Regions from separate parts of the Homo sapiens genome. Here region 2 is linked to region 1. The links are contacts of gene promoters, found by promoter capture Hi-C in blood cells and fetal thymus (Javierre and others, 2016). All regions are on one chromosome and are shown on one strand. The core of a region is centred on a gene start or on the middle of the fragment in contact, and the rest is flanking DNA. Distances in the headings are between cores, read along the strand shown.

Region 1 (5,818 bases), core at 3,319-5,818:
GCGTGGTGGCGGATGCCTGTAATCCCAGTCACTCAGAAGGTTGAGGCAGGAGAATCGCTTGAACCTGGGAGGCAGAGGTTGCAGTGAGCCGAGATGGCACCACTGCACTCCAGCCTGGGCAACAAGTGAAACTCGGTCTCGAAAAAAAGTTCATCCATGTTGTAGTATCTATCAGTACTTCATTCCTTTTTATTATCAAATAATATTTTATTGTTTAGGTCTCCCATATTTTCTTTATTCATTCATCTCTTCATGGACATGTGGGTTGTTTCTGCTTTTTGGCTTTCATGAATAATGCTGCTGTAAACATTTGTGTTCAAGTTTCTGGGTGAACATGTTCTTATTTCTCTTGGTTATATATGTAAGAGTGGAGATGCAGGAGTGTATGGTAATTCTATGCTTAATCTTTGGAGGAACTGTTTTGAGACTTTTTTCCAGAGTGGCTGGACAATTTTATATTCACACTAGCAATATATAAATGATTTAGTTTCCATACATCTTTCCAGTATTTGATACTATCTTTTATTTTAGCTGTTCTTATAGATGTTAGTAGTGATATCTCATCATGGTCTTAACCTGTCTAAAGGCTAGTGATGTTGAATATCTTTTTAGATAATTATTTTCTATCCATATATCCCCTTGGGTGAAATTTCTCTTTATATCTTTTGCCAGTCTTCTAATTGGATGATTTGATTTTTTTATGTAGTGTTTCTATGTTGAATTTGAGAGTTCTTTATATATTTGTTCTAGATAGGAGTCCTTTGTCAGATATGTGGTTTGCAAATATTTTCTCTTAGTCTGTAATTTGTCTTTTCATTCTCTTAACTAGGTCTTTTACAGAGCAAAAAAAAATTAATTTTGATGAAGTTGGATTGATTTTTTTAGGGATCATGCCTTTGGTGTCATGTCTAAGAACACTTCATCAAGCTCTAAGTCTCACAGATTTTCTCCTATGTTATCTTCCAGAGGTTTTTTGTTTTTATTTTATTTTACTTTTTAATTAAGACAGAGTTTCGCTCTGTTGCCCAGGCTGGAGTGCAGTGGCAGGATCTCAGCTCACTGCAACCTCCGCCTCCCAGGTTCAAGTGATCCTCCTGCCTTGGCCTCCTGAGTAGCTGGGACTACAGGCACGCACCACCCAACTGGCTAATTTTTTGCATTTTTATGTGGTTGCTTTCGAGAATTTTCTCTGCCTCTTGTTTTTAGAAGTTTGACTATGATGTGTCTTGGCATGAATTTCTTTGGGTTTATCCTGTTTGTGATGCGCTCAGCTTCTTGAATCTGTAGACATATGTTGTGCGTGTGTGTTGTCAAATGAAGATAATTTGCAGCCATTACTTCTTGGAATATTTTTTTAAGGCCCACCCTCCTTTTCCTCCCCTTCTGGGACTTCAATGACAAAATGTTAGATCTTCTTTTATTATAGTTACTCATGTCCTTGAGGCTTTGTTCCATTTTCTTTCATCTATTTTCTTTCCATTGTTCAGAATGGGTAATTTCTATTGTTATACGTTTTGTTTCACTGCTTCTTTCTTCTATACTCTCCATTCTGCTATTGAGCCCATCCATTATGGTTTTTATTTCAGCTCTTGTATTTTTTAGTTGTATTTTTTAGTTCTAAAGTTTCCATTTGGTTCTTCTTTATATTTTCTATTTCTTTGCTGATACTTTTTATTATTTTATTTGTTTCAAGCACATTTATAATTTCTCAGTGAAACACTTTTATGATGGCTGCTCCAAAATCTTTGTCAGATAATTCTAACATCTGTGTCGTCTTGATGTTTGTGTCTGTTAATTATCTTTTGTTATTCAGTTTGAGAATGCCTGATTCCTAGTATGACAAGTGATTTGCCATTGAAGTCAGGATATTCTGGGCACTGTGTTATAAGATTCTGGATCTTCTTTAAATATTTTGTTTTAGTGGGCTTCCCTTTATACTGCTCCAGCGAAATAAAGTAGGGCACTGCCTGATTGCTTCCAGACAGGGATAAAAGTCCAGGTTCTCCATCCAGCCTTTCCTGAACCTGGGGGGTTGGGAGAGATGAGGCCTCCATGTTATTGTTTGGTAAGGGTAGAAGTTCAGGTTCCCCACTAGGAATCCATGACAACTCCCTGGCTGGGAGTGGGAGGGATGCTTCATTACTGCTCCCTATGTGGCTTTCACTGACACTGTGTGTGGCAGAGAGAGGGGGGTGCTTGTTACCACTGAGTGGTGGCGAAAGTCCCAACTCTCCACCAGGCCCCCTTTGACACTACTCCAATGGGGCCGGGTGGAATGCCTCATTTCTGCATTGGGGTGGCAGTGGATGTCCAGGCTGCCCACATGGTTTCCACCAACACCACATCGGGGGAGGGTGATCCCAGTGGGGAGGAATGTCCCAGCTCCAACTCTAGCATCACTCTGGCTGAGTATGGGAGTGGCCTAGGGTTCTTTGTTACAGCCTGGTGAAGGTGAATGTCTAGGTTTTCCATCCGGCCTTTGCTGACAAGGGTGATGATGGAACTTGGATGGAGCGGAGCAGGTATGGACTAAAAGAGCTCTGTCTTTCTAGGATGCCCCTTTCCTCGTTCTTTGGCTAGAAAAGCATAGTTTTGCTAGAACTTGTTCTGTTGGGACTTTTTCTTGTTTGTGCCCCTTGGCATTTTCAGTTGTTGGCTTCTCCAGTATTCAGCCTGAGATATATGAGGCAAAGAGAAATCCCAGGGAATTCACCACCATTCCTTAAGTCCCGAGGTTCCTAACCAGTCTGCTTCTCTCCATCTTTCAGTCTTCTTATGCTTGTCTTGTCACGTTCAAGGTTTTCAGTTATACTTGGCAGAATAAATAAATACATCTACTCCATCTTTCCAGAACATCACTGCTTTTTGTTCATTTTATTTATTTATTATTTACTGAGACAAGGTCTTACTTTGTTGCCTGGGCTGGAGTGCAGTGGTGCTATCATGGCTGACTGAAGCCTTGAACTCCCAGGCTCAAGCGATCCTCCTGCCTCAGCCTCCCAAGTAGTTTGGACCACAGGCATGGGCCACCATGCCCAGCTACTTTTCATTTTTTGCTTTTGTTGACTAGCCCCACAGAGTTTTGCTGTGTTGTTCAGGTTGGTCTCAAACTTCTGGCCTTAAGCAATCCTCTTGCCTTGCTCTCCCAAAGCGTATTACAGGCATAAGTCACCACACCCAGCCCTATCGGTGCTTTTGGAAGAAGGTGTTCTTCCCTCTCTCTGTTTCCCTCCCTATGGCCAGCTGCCCATAGAGGGCAGTGGTGCTGGAGTGAAGACCTCTCAGCGCATCCCTCTTCATCTGTAGGATGTGCATGGCTTCCAATGCTGTCTGTTCTGCTCCTGAGACACTCGCTGGCTACAGGATTATAAAGGTGATGAGGTTTCAGCCTAAAGACTCTCCATTCAATAACACTTCCTACAAGATATCTTTTTTGTTTTTTTGAGACAGGATCTGGCTCTGTCACCCAGGCTGGAGTGCCACAGCGCGATCTGCTCACTGCAACCTCAGCCTCTCGGGCTTAAGTGATTCTCCTGCCTTAGCCTCCTGAGTAGCTGGGACCACAGGCGCCCGCCACCACACCCAGCTAATTTTTGGATTTTTTTTTTTTTTTTTTTTAGTAGAGATGGGGTTTTACCATGTTGCCCAAGCTGGTCTTGAACTCCTGAGCTCAGGCAATCCACCCGCCTTGGCCACCCAAAGCGCTAGGATTACAGGCATGAGCCACCATGCCCAGTCCTACAAGATATCTTTTCTTTTTCTTTCTTTCTTTCTTTCTTTCTTTTTTTTTTTTTGAGACAGAGTCTCACTCTGTCACCCAGGCTGGACTGCAGTGGTGTGATCTCTTCTCACTGCAGCCTCCGCCTCCTGGGCTCAAGTGATTCTCCTGCCTCAGCCCCCTGAGTAGCTGGGACTACAGGCGCCTGCCAAAACACTTAGCTAATTTTTTGTATTTTTAGTAGAGACGGAATTTCACCATGTTCGCCAGGCTGGTCTCGAATTCCTGACCTCAAGTGATCCACCCGCCTCAGCCTCCCAAAGTGTTGGGATTCCAGGCATGAGCCACCGCACCCGGCCGAGATATCTTTTTCCTCCTCAATATCTATGTGCTCCTCCCTCAACCCTTGGGGGCTTCAGTGTAGGTGGTCAGATTCCCCACCATTTATGCCTATGATGAAAAGAGTGGAAATGGTAATAACTGGATGGTGTCACTAAACTACAAATACTTTCAGGTAGGCCTGTGCCTTTTTCAGCGGGCTGCAGTTCTCCTGCTTGGCTTGAGTCATTCGCATTTCCTGAGAGCTGGGTAGAGGGGGAGTTGTGGAGGAGCCCATTCTGAAACTGATCTGATATTGCAAACCCATACACGGAAAGGAAGAACTGCCCATACGTATTCGAGTCTTCCAATCTGACTCCGAGCCCGCATCCCCCTCAATCGTCTCTTTTCCCCACTCCCCAGATCACGGTGCTGCTTGGTCCCCCTCAGAGCCATAGAGAAGCAGGGGGTGTGGCCATGGAGGGGAAACCTCTGTCACCAGAGACTTTACTGTACTTCTCCTTTTGCTCTCAGATGCTGCCAGGGTCCCTGAAGAGGGAAGACACGCGGAAACAGGTAAAAATCATTTTGCTTTTATTTTGCATTCAACAAGCAAGTTATTACGGAACAGCAGTTATGGGCCAGGCATACCTCCCAGAGCTGGGAACACAGTGGGGACCTCCCTGGCTCTCTCTTACCGGTGTTACAACAGGTTGTAGACAGACCCCTGTCTTGAGCATCCTCCTTGCCAGGCCTGCTGAGTCTTCTGAGAGTAGGGTAGGTTATTGGATGCCCAGGAGGGAAGAAGGAGCCAGGGAGGTCAGCCCCAAGGTTCTGCAAGGCCCTCAACAGGCCTGGACTGAGGAGGTCTGGACAGCATGGCCCTGTCCTGAGCCTCTGTGCATAATAACTGCTGTCCCTAACCTCCACCCCACCCTCAGCCTTCCAATTCCCGGGCCTGGGGCCCTACTCCTGTGCTCCAGAGACTCCTGGAGCTCCTTGAGGCAGCACACAGTCCTGCTCTGGAGGCGCCCATCTCCCACTCATGCTGGGATGCTCCAGCCCGTCCCAGAGCAGGTTGTGGCTGGAGGGTGCTGGCAGAGGAGGGACAATGGCCCGGCTCCTGGAGGCAAGTGTTGGCTGCAGGGAACGGAGTCTAGTCCTTGCCACAGCCCTTGTTACCCCTTAGGTAACCTTAAGGGGATTTCAAAGAACTCTGGCTCTGCAACCCTGCTAAGTTTTTTATGGAACATGTAAAATAGATCCCATGGCCAAAGAAGTATGGACAATGTATTATACTATACTCTAATCCCCATGTCTAGAGATTAATGGTGTAGATAGAGTTTACTGAAAGGTTTTTAAAGTCCTGCAGTAAAGAATCTTACTTAAGCCAGGTGCGGTGGCTCACGCCTGTCATCTCAGCACTTTGGGAGGCCAAGTTGGGGGGATCACCTGAGGTCAGGAGTTTGAAACCAGCCTGGCCAACATGGTGAAACCCCATCTCTACTAAAACAAACAAACAAACAAACAAATCAGACGGGTGTGGTGGCACATGCCTATAGTCCCAGCTACTCAGGAGGCTGAGGCAGGAGAATCACTTGAACCCTGGAGGCAGAGGATGCAGTGAACTGAGATCACACCACTGCACTTCAGCCTGGGCGACAGAAGAATGAGACTCTGTCTCAAAAGAAAAAAAAAGAATCTTACTTAACTCTTTTACCCTGCCTTTCTCAAGTGTATGTGACCTTGAAGATGTTTTTTGCATGTGACATGATGAGTACC
Region 2 (5,818 bases), core at 846-3,345, 120 kb before region 1:
GTGTAATTAGAGCTTTGCATGCTGTGAGTAGTGACTCGTTAGTGGTTCATGAGATCAATTTAGAAGGTCCTAACCAGCAATTTTTTTCTGAAATGGAATTAAGTAGAAGAAAAAAGAAATTTCAGAGTATCAGAGTTTGTCTCCAGCCTTAAGTAAGTGTTACTTTGGTAAACTCTTATTGTGAGTGTGTATTGTTGACAGAAAAGCCAAACTTTGTGAAATATTTAAAGAGGTTTATTCTGAGCCTATAAGAGTGGCCATGGCCTGGGGTACAGTCTCAAGAGATCCTGAGAACATGTGCCTGAGGGGGTCAGGTTACAGTTTGGTTTTATACATTTTAGGGAGACAGGAGTTACAGGCAAAGACATAAATCAATACACGGAAGGTGTACATTGGTTCAGCCTAAAGAGGTGGGATATCTTGAGTCAGAGGGTGGGGAACAGGGCTTACAGGCGGATTCAAAGACTTTCTGATTGCCATTTGGTTGGAAGAGTTAAGCTTTGCCTAAAGACTGAAGAAGTCCTTAGAAAAGAATGCTTGAGCTAACATAAGGGGTTGTAGAAGACAAGGCCCTTGTTATGCAGATGAAGTCTCCTAAGTGGCAGCGCTCAGAGAACATGTGACCAGGGTCAGCTTGGAATTTGGGATCTGATTGCCATAAAGAGTCTACTCTGTCAGTCCTGTGATCTGTATTTTAATGTTAATGTTGGTCAGTTGGGCCTAAACTCCAGAAGGGAGGGGCTAGAATGAGGCATGTGCACCTCCCATTTCTTCATGGCTAGAATTCAGTTGTTCAGATGTCTCTGGGGTCCCTTTGGCCCAGAAGGGGGTCCACTTAGTTAGTTGGGGGGCTCAGGATTTTATTTTTGGTTCAAAGTATATATTCTAGGTTGTGATGTCAAATGACTCTCTTACAGTTAACAACAAAAGTGTGAAAGCTACTGTGGTTGATAGCAATATCCTTTGGTTTAGTAGCTTTGTTTTATTTTCCATGTTATTACTTGGAAATTCTTTTCCCCTGGACCCTCCTAAGTCTCTGTCTCCTATCCCCCAGAGACCTAAAGGGTGAAGACACTGAGCTTCCAGATTTGAGGGCAGGAGAGTCCTAGTGAGGCCTGGCTTGGAGGCCAGGGAACTTCCTATTCCAGTCTGCAATGTTACCCTTCAATCTCCAGCTCCCCTGGCTGTTGGTGCCCACCCCAGAGTTGTGGAAGCCCTTTCAGTCTAGCTGCCCCACTTGGTGACAGCATGGGCAGGGCAGGACAGGGAGCATCATGGGGTTCATGCTTTCTGCCGTCCAGCCTCCCTACATGCAGGGCGATGGCCCCTAGCTGACCCTTGAGAGCTGAGGGGAGGCTAGGAAGAGGGTTAAAGGCGAAGCCAGACCCAGGCCATTACTGAAGTCACATGGCCTGCCAGGAAACCCCTGTCTATATTGTAGCTGGTTGAACTAATTATATTATAAATACTTTTCCATTTTCTGCCTAGAACCATGCTCTAGACATCTGCATGAGGTCATTAAACCTGCACCACAGCCATGCACACACACGTGTGTGTGTGTGTGTGTGTGTAAAAGACAGACATGAGGTATAGAAGAGCAATATAGAGGTCTCCATATTATGGGGGAACAGACAGTCCCAGAGCAGGGAGGTCACTTGAACAGGGTCACAGAGGCAGGAGGCCACGAACCTGGCTGGACACTGCAGGGCCAAGCAGGTAAACACTGTGCCTGACTCGCACCCAGACTTCGCAACAACCCTAGAATATTCATAAGTCAGTAATAATAGTGTTACAGGAAAGGAGTCCCGATCCAGACCCCAAGAGAGGGTTCTTGGATTCCCACAAGAGAGAATTCAGGGCAGGTCCATAAAGTGAAAGCAAGTTTATTAGGAAAATAAAGGAATAAAGAATGGCTACTCCATAGACAGAGCAGCCCCGAGGACTGCTGGTTGCCCATTTTTATGGTTATTTCTTGATGATATGCTACACAAGGGGTGGATTATTCATTTCTCCCCTTTTTAGACCATAGAGGGTAACTTCCCGACATCGCCATGGTATTTGTAAACTGTCATGGCGCTGGTGGGAGTGTAGCAGTGAGGACGACCAGAGGTCACTCTCGTGGCCATCTTGGTTTTGATGGGTATTATCTGGCTTCTTTATTGCATCCTGTTTTATCAGCAAGGTCTTTATGACCTGCATCTTGTGTTGACCTCCTATCTCACCCTGTGACTCAGAATGCCTTAACCATCTGGGGATGCAGCCCAGTAAGTCTCAGCCTCATTTTACCTGGCCCCTACTCAAGATGGGGTTGCTCTGGTTCAAACGCCTCTGACAGGGTGACAACTGTGACCACAACAGATTCACAAACATGACATTTTCAGAGAGAGGAAGGTATGCAGGGTGGTGTGATTTGGAAGAGGCTGTGGGCGTAGAGGGATGGGTAATTCAGTTGGGGTGGTCAGGGAGGGCTGCTTGGTGGAGGGGACTCTTGGCTGAGACCTGAGGGCTGTGAAGTTCTTAGAGAAGGGTGTTCCAGGCAGAGGGAACAGCAAGCACAAAGGCCTGAGACGAGAGCTAGCTTGGTATGCAAGAGGAACAGAAAAGAGGAAGTGAGAGTAAGGCGGGGGAGGGAAGGGGCAGGGAATGGAGGCTGTGGAGAGGGGAGGGTTTCCAGGCAGCCCAGGACCCTCAAGGAGAGAAACGTTGGATGTAGTCTCCCAGGTAGGGTCCATCTGGCCCTTCCTCCTGGCTCCTGCGGAGTCCGAGTGGCTCTTTCCCTCCTTCCCTCCTCTCCCCTCCTCCTTCTCTCCCTCTCCATTTTCCCTGCAAGGTCTGCAGCCCAACTCCAGCTCTCCCATTACTACAGGGGCTGGTGGGTCCTTCTGAGCAAGAAGATGGGGCTCTTTGTCTACAGTGTCTGTCTATAGTCATTCACCCACTCATTCATTTAATCATTCACTCATTCATTCATTCATTTAGCCACTCATTTGTCAAATATTGATTTTTCTCAGGTGTTTTGCCCTCACAGGTCCTGCCGCCTAAAACACTGACTTCTTATCTCTCAAGGCTTTGCTTTCAACACTGTCTCTTCCAAGACCTCTCCCTGACCACTCCCAACTTACTAAACCCCTATCACCCTGTTAGCTTTTGAATGCTCTTCATGGTAAAACAGGACAGGTTGATGCTCTCCGGGGCTCTCTCTACACACAAGAGAGAGATTAGCCTGACGGGCATTCGTTTACCCTTCTCATTTTCTTTGGGAACCAGCCTCCCCTGCTCTTAGTCTATGTGATTCGGACACAGCCAACTACATTTCCCAGATCCAGAAATGAACACGCCATTCCAAGTAAAGCCAATGAGAGACAGCTGCAGGACTTTTGCTGGAACTATTGGGAAAGTGGTGTTTCTTTTTCTGCTATGGTTACTTATCTGCTATGCTCTAAGCCTGGAACTGCTGGAGGTCATCTTTGCTGCATGAAAATGAAGTCAATATTGAGGACAGCAGAGGTGAGAGGGAGAGAGGCATAATCCTGAGTGTATTGCAGGGGCACCTGGATCCAGCCATACCTGAAATCCGAGACTTTCCATTCTAAGAACCAATACATTCTCTTTGTACTTAAGCTAGTTTGGGTTTTAATCACTTGTGCCAGAAGGCCTGATTGATAATAAAACCTCAAAGATAAGCAGGCAGTCAAGCTTAGGTACTTTCCTTTTAAGAGATGCGGGCAGGTGCTTCCTTCTCTCAGAAACCACTCCTCCTCTAGGACCTTCTATTCTAAGAAGCCTGGGTGTTTGAGGTTCGTTCATCCTGAGGCATAAAAACAAGATCAAAGTGCCAGGCCAGACGGAGGCAGAGTGTCTACAGAAGCAGCCGTGCAACTAGCAGCAGGAATTGGGAATCTGCATTATTAATAAGCAAGCCCATTTTCCTTTACTTCTTTGTAAGCAGAGCCTTAATTTTATTAGCCTGTTTATTAGCTCTGACCATGTGTTCAGAAAAAGTACCCTCAGCCTCTGAGTGATCTAAGCCAGGCATAGTTCTCCTGTCTTCTTGTTGGTGATTGGTTCTGGAAAAGGCTGGGACACACTCCTGGCCAAGGAGAAGTCACAGCAGTGACTGACTTGGAGGGGGAGTCTGCTGGGGGCTGGCTAGTGGAAGGCATCTGGGGTAAAATGTTTTTGCTCTTAAAAAGTACTGTAGGAGGCCAGGCATGTTGACTCAGGCCTGTAATCCCAGCACTTTGGGAGGCCAAGATGGGCAGATCACTTGAGGTCAGGAGTTCGAGACCAGCCTGGACAACATGATGAAACCCCATTTCTATTTTTAAAAATACAAAAATTAGCTGGGCATGGTGGTGTGCACCTGTAGTCCCAGCTACTCAGGAAGCTGAGGCAGGAGAATCACTTGAACCTGGGAGGCGGAGGTTGCAGTGAGTGGACATTGCACCACTACACTCCAGCCTGGGTGACAGAGTGAGACTTCATCTCAAAAGAAAAAGAAAAGTACTGTAGGAGGCCAGGTGTGGTGGCTCACACCTGTAATCCCAGCATTTTGGGAGGCCAAGGCAGGAGGATCGCTTGAGCCCAGGAGTTCGAGACCAGCCTGAGCAACATAGCAAGACCCCATCTCCAAAAAAATTTTAAAAAGATACACAAAATTTGCCAGGCGTGGCGGTGTGTGCCTGTATTCCTGGCTACTAAGGAAGCTGAGGAGGGAGAATCACCTGAACCTGGGAGATCAAGGCTGCAGTGAGTCATAATCACACCACTGCACTCCAGCCTGTGTGACACAGCGAGATCCTATCTCAAAAAAAGAAAAAAATAATAATGTAAGAGAAATAAACTTTTTCTTTTCCTCGCAGAGAGAATGTGGCAGTGTGAGGAGGCATTTGCTGGCTTAAGCTGGGCTCTCAAACTCTTAGTCTAGAGCAGAGTTCTAACAGCATCACGTGTTTTTGCTTTCTCTTTCATCCACGTTGAAGAAGAGGGGGTAGTAAAAATATTCCTCTGGTTTAACAAAAAATTCACAAATATTTATCCTTTTCAGAATCTACATGCAATTTAAGTATTAGTCCCAGAATCACAGATGCTGGAATGTTAAAGTTTCTTTGACAAGACATACTGATGATCTCTGAAGTCCCTGCGGCCTGCAAAGAATATTTGCAAACAGAGTTTTATGATGCTGAGGATGATTCTGAAGCCACAGAGAAAGACATCATTTTTCTTCTTTTCTTTCTGCAATTTCTTTCATTAGCACTTCGGAGCACCTATAGTCGCCATGAGTTGAAATCTCATGAGTTAGTAGTAAGAGCAGAATCAGAGAGGCTAAACACTGAAAATACAGAAAGGAAATGGGTAGAGTAGGATTTTAGCAAGAGGAAGTATACGGTTGTGATGCTTTGCACCTATAGGAAATGATGGCTGGGGCTGTGGCAGCCACGTTACCACCGTGAGGGATGACATTGCCCACATGCTGAGGAGCCTGAGTCTATAAGAACATCATTCAACTGATGCATTGACCCCTGGAGAACCTCCCCGCCTTTGGGGGACCAGCAGTTCTGTAAAATAATACGTGTCCTTATTGCTTTTTTTTTTTGAGATGGAGTCTGGCTCTGTCCCCCAGGCGGGAGTGCAGTGGCGCGATCTCGGCTCACTGCAAGATCCACCTCCTGAGTTCACGCCATTCTCCTGCCTCAGCCTCCCGAGTAGCTGGGACTACAGGCGACCGCCACCATGCCTAGTTATTTTTTTGGATTTTTAGTAGAGACGGGGTTTCACCGTGTTAGCCAGGATGATCTCAATCTCCTGAGTTCACGCC

Evidence for each region. The method cuts DNA at HindIII sites, captures the fragments that hold promoters and counts their contacts. A CHiCAGO score of 5 or more calls a contact.
Region 2: a fragment that was not itself captured here is called in contact with the fragment with the promoter of CD22 in region 1 in 2 of 17 cell types (monocytes and naive B cells); the score reaches 5.9 in monocytes.

What each region holds. Positions count from the first base shown.
Region 1 is chr19:35,324,619-35,330,436 of GRCh38, forward strand. It overlaps CD22 (CD22 molecule), which reads left to right and starts at 4,569. Exons shown (of 14, transcript NM_001771.4): 1 at 4,569-4,612. RefSeq lists enhancers at 5,146-5,195, 5,266-5,315. The HindIII fragment of the contact is 19,927 bases long and covers 1-5,818 here.
Region 2 is chr19:35,202,886-35,208,703 of GRCh38, forward strand. It overlaps LOC105372379 (a long non-coding RNA gene), which reads left to right and starts at 2,236. Exons shown (of 3, transcript XR_935938.2): 1 at 2,236-2,391; 2 at 3,268-3,507. RefSeq lists enhancers at 197-714, 715-1,232, 1,233-1,750, 2,726-2,895. The HindIII fragment of the contact is 3,198 bases long and covers 497-3,694 here.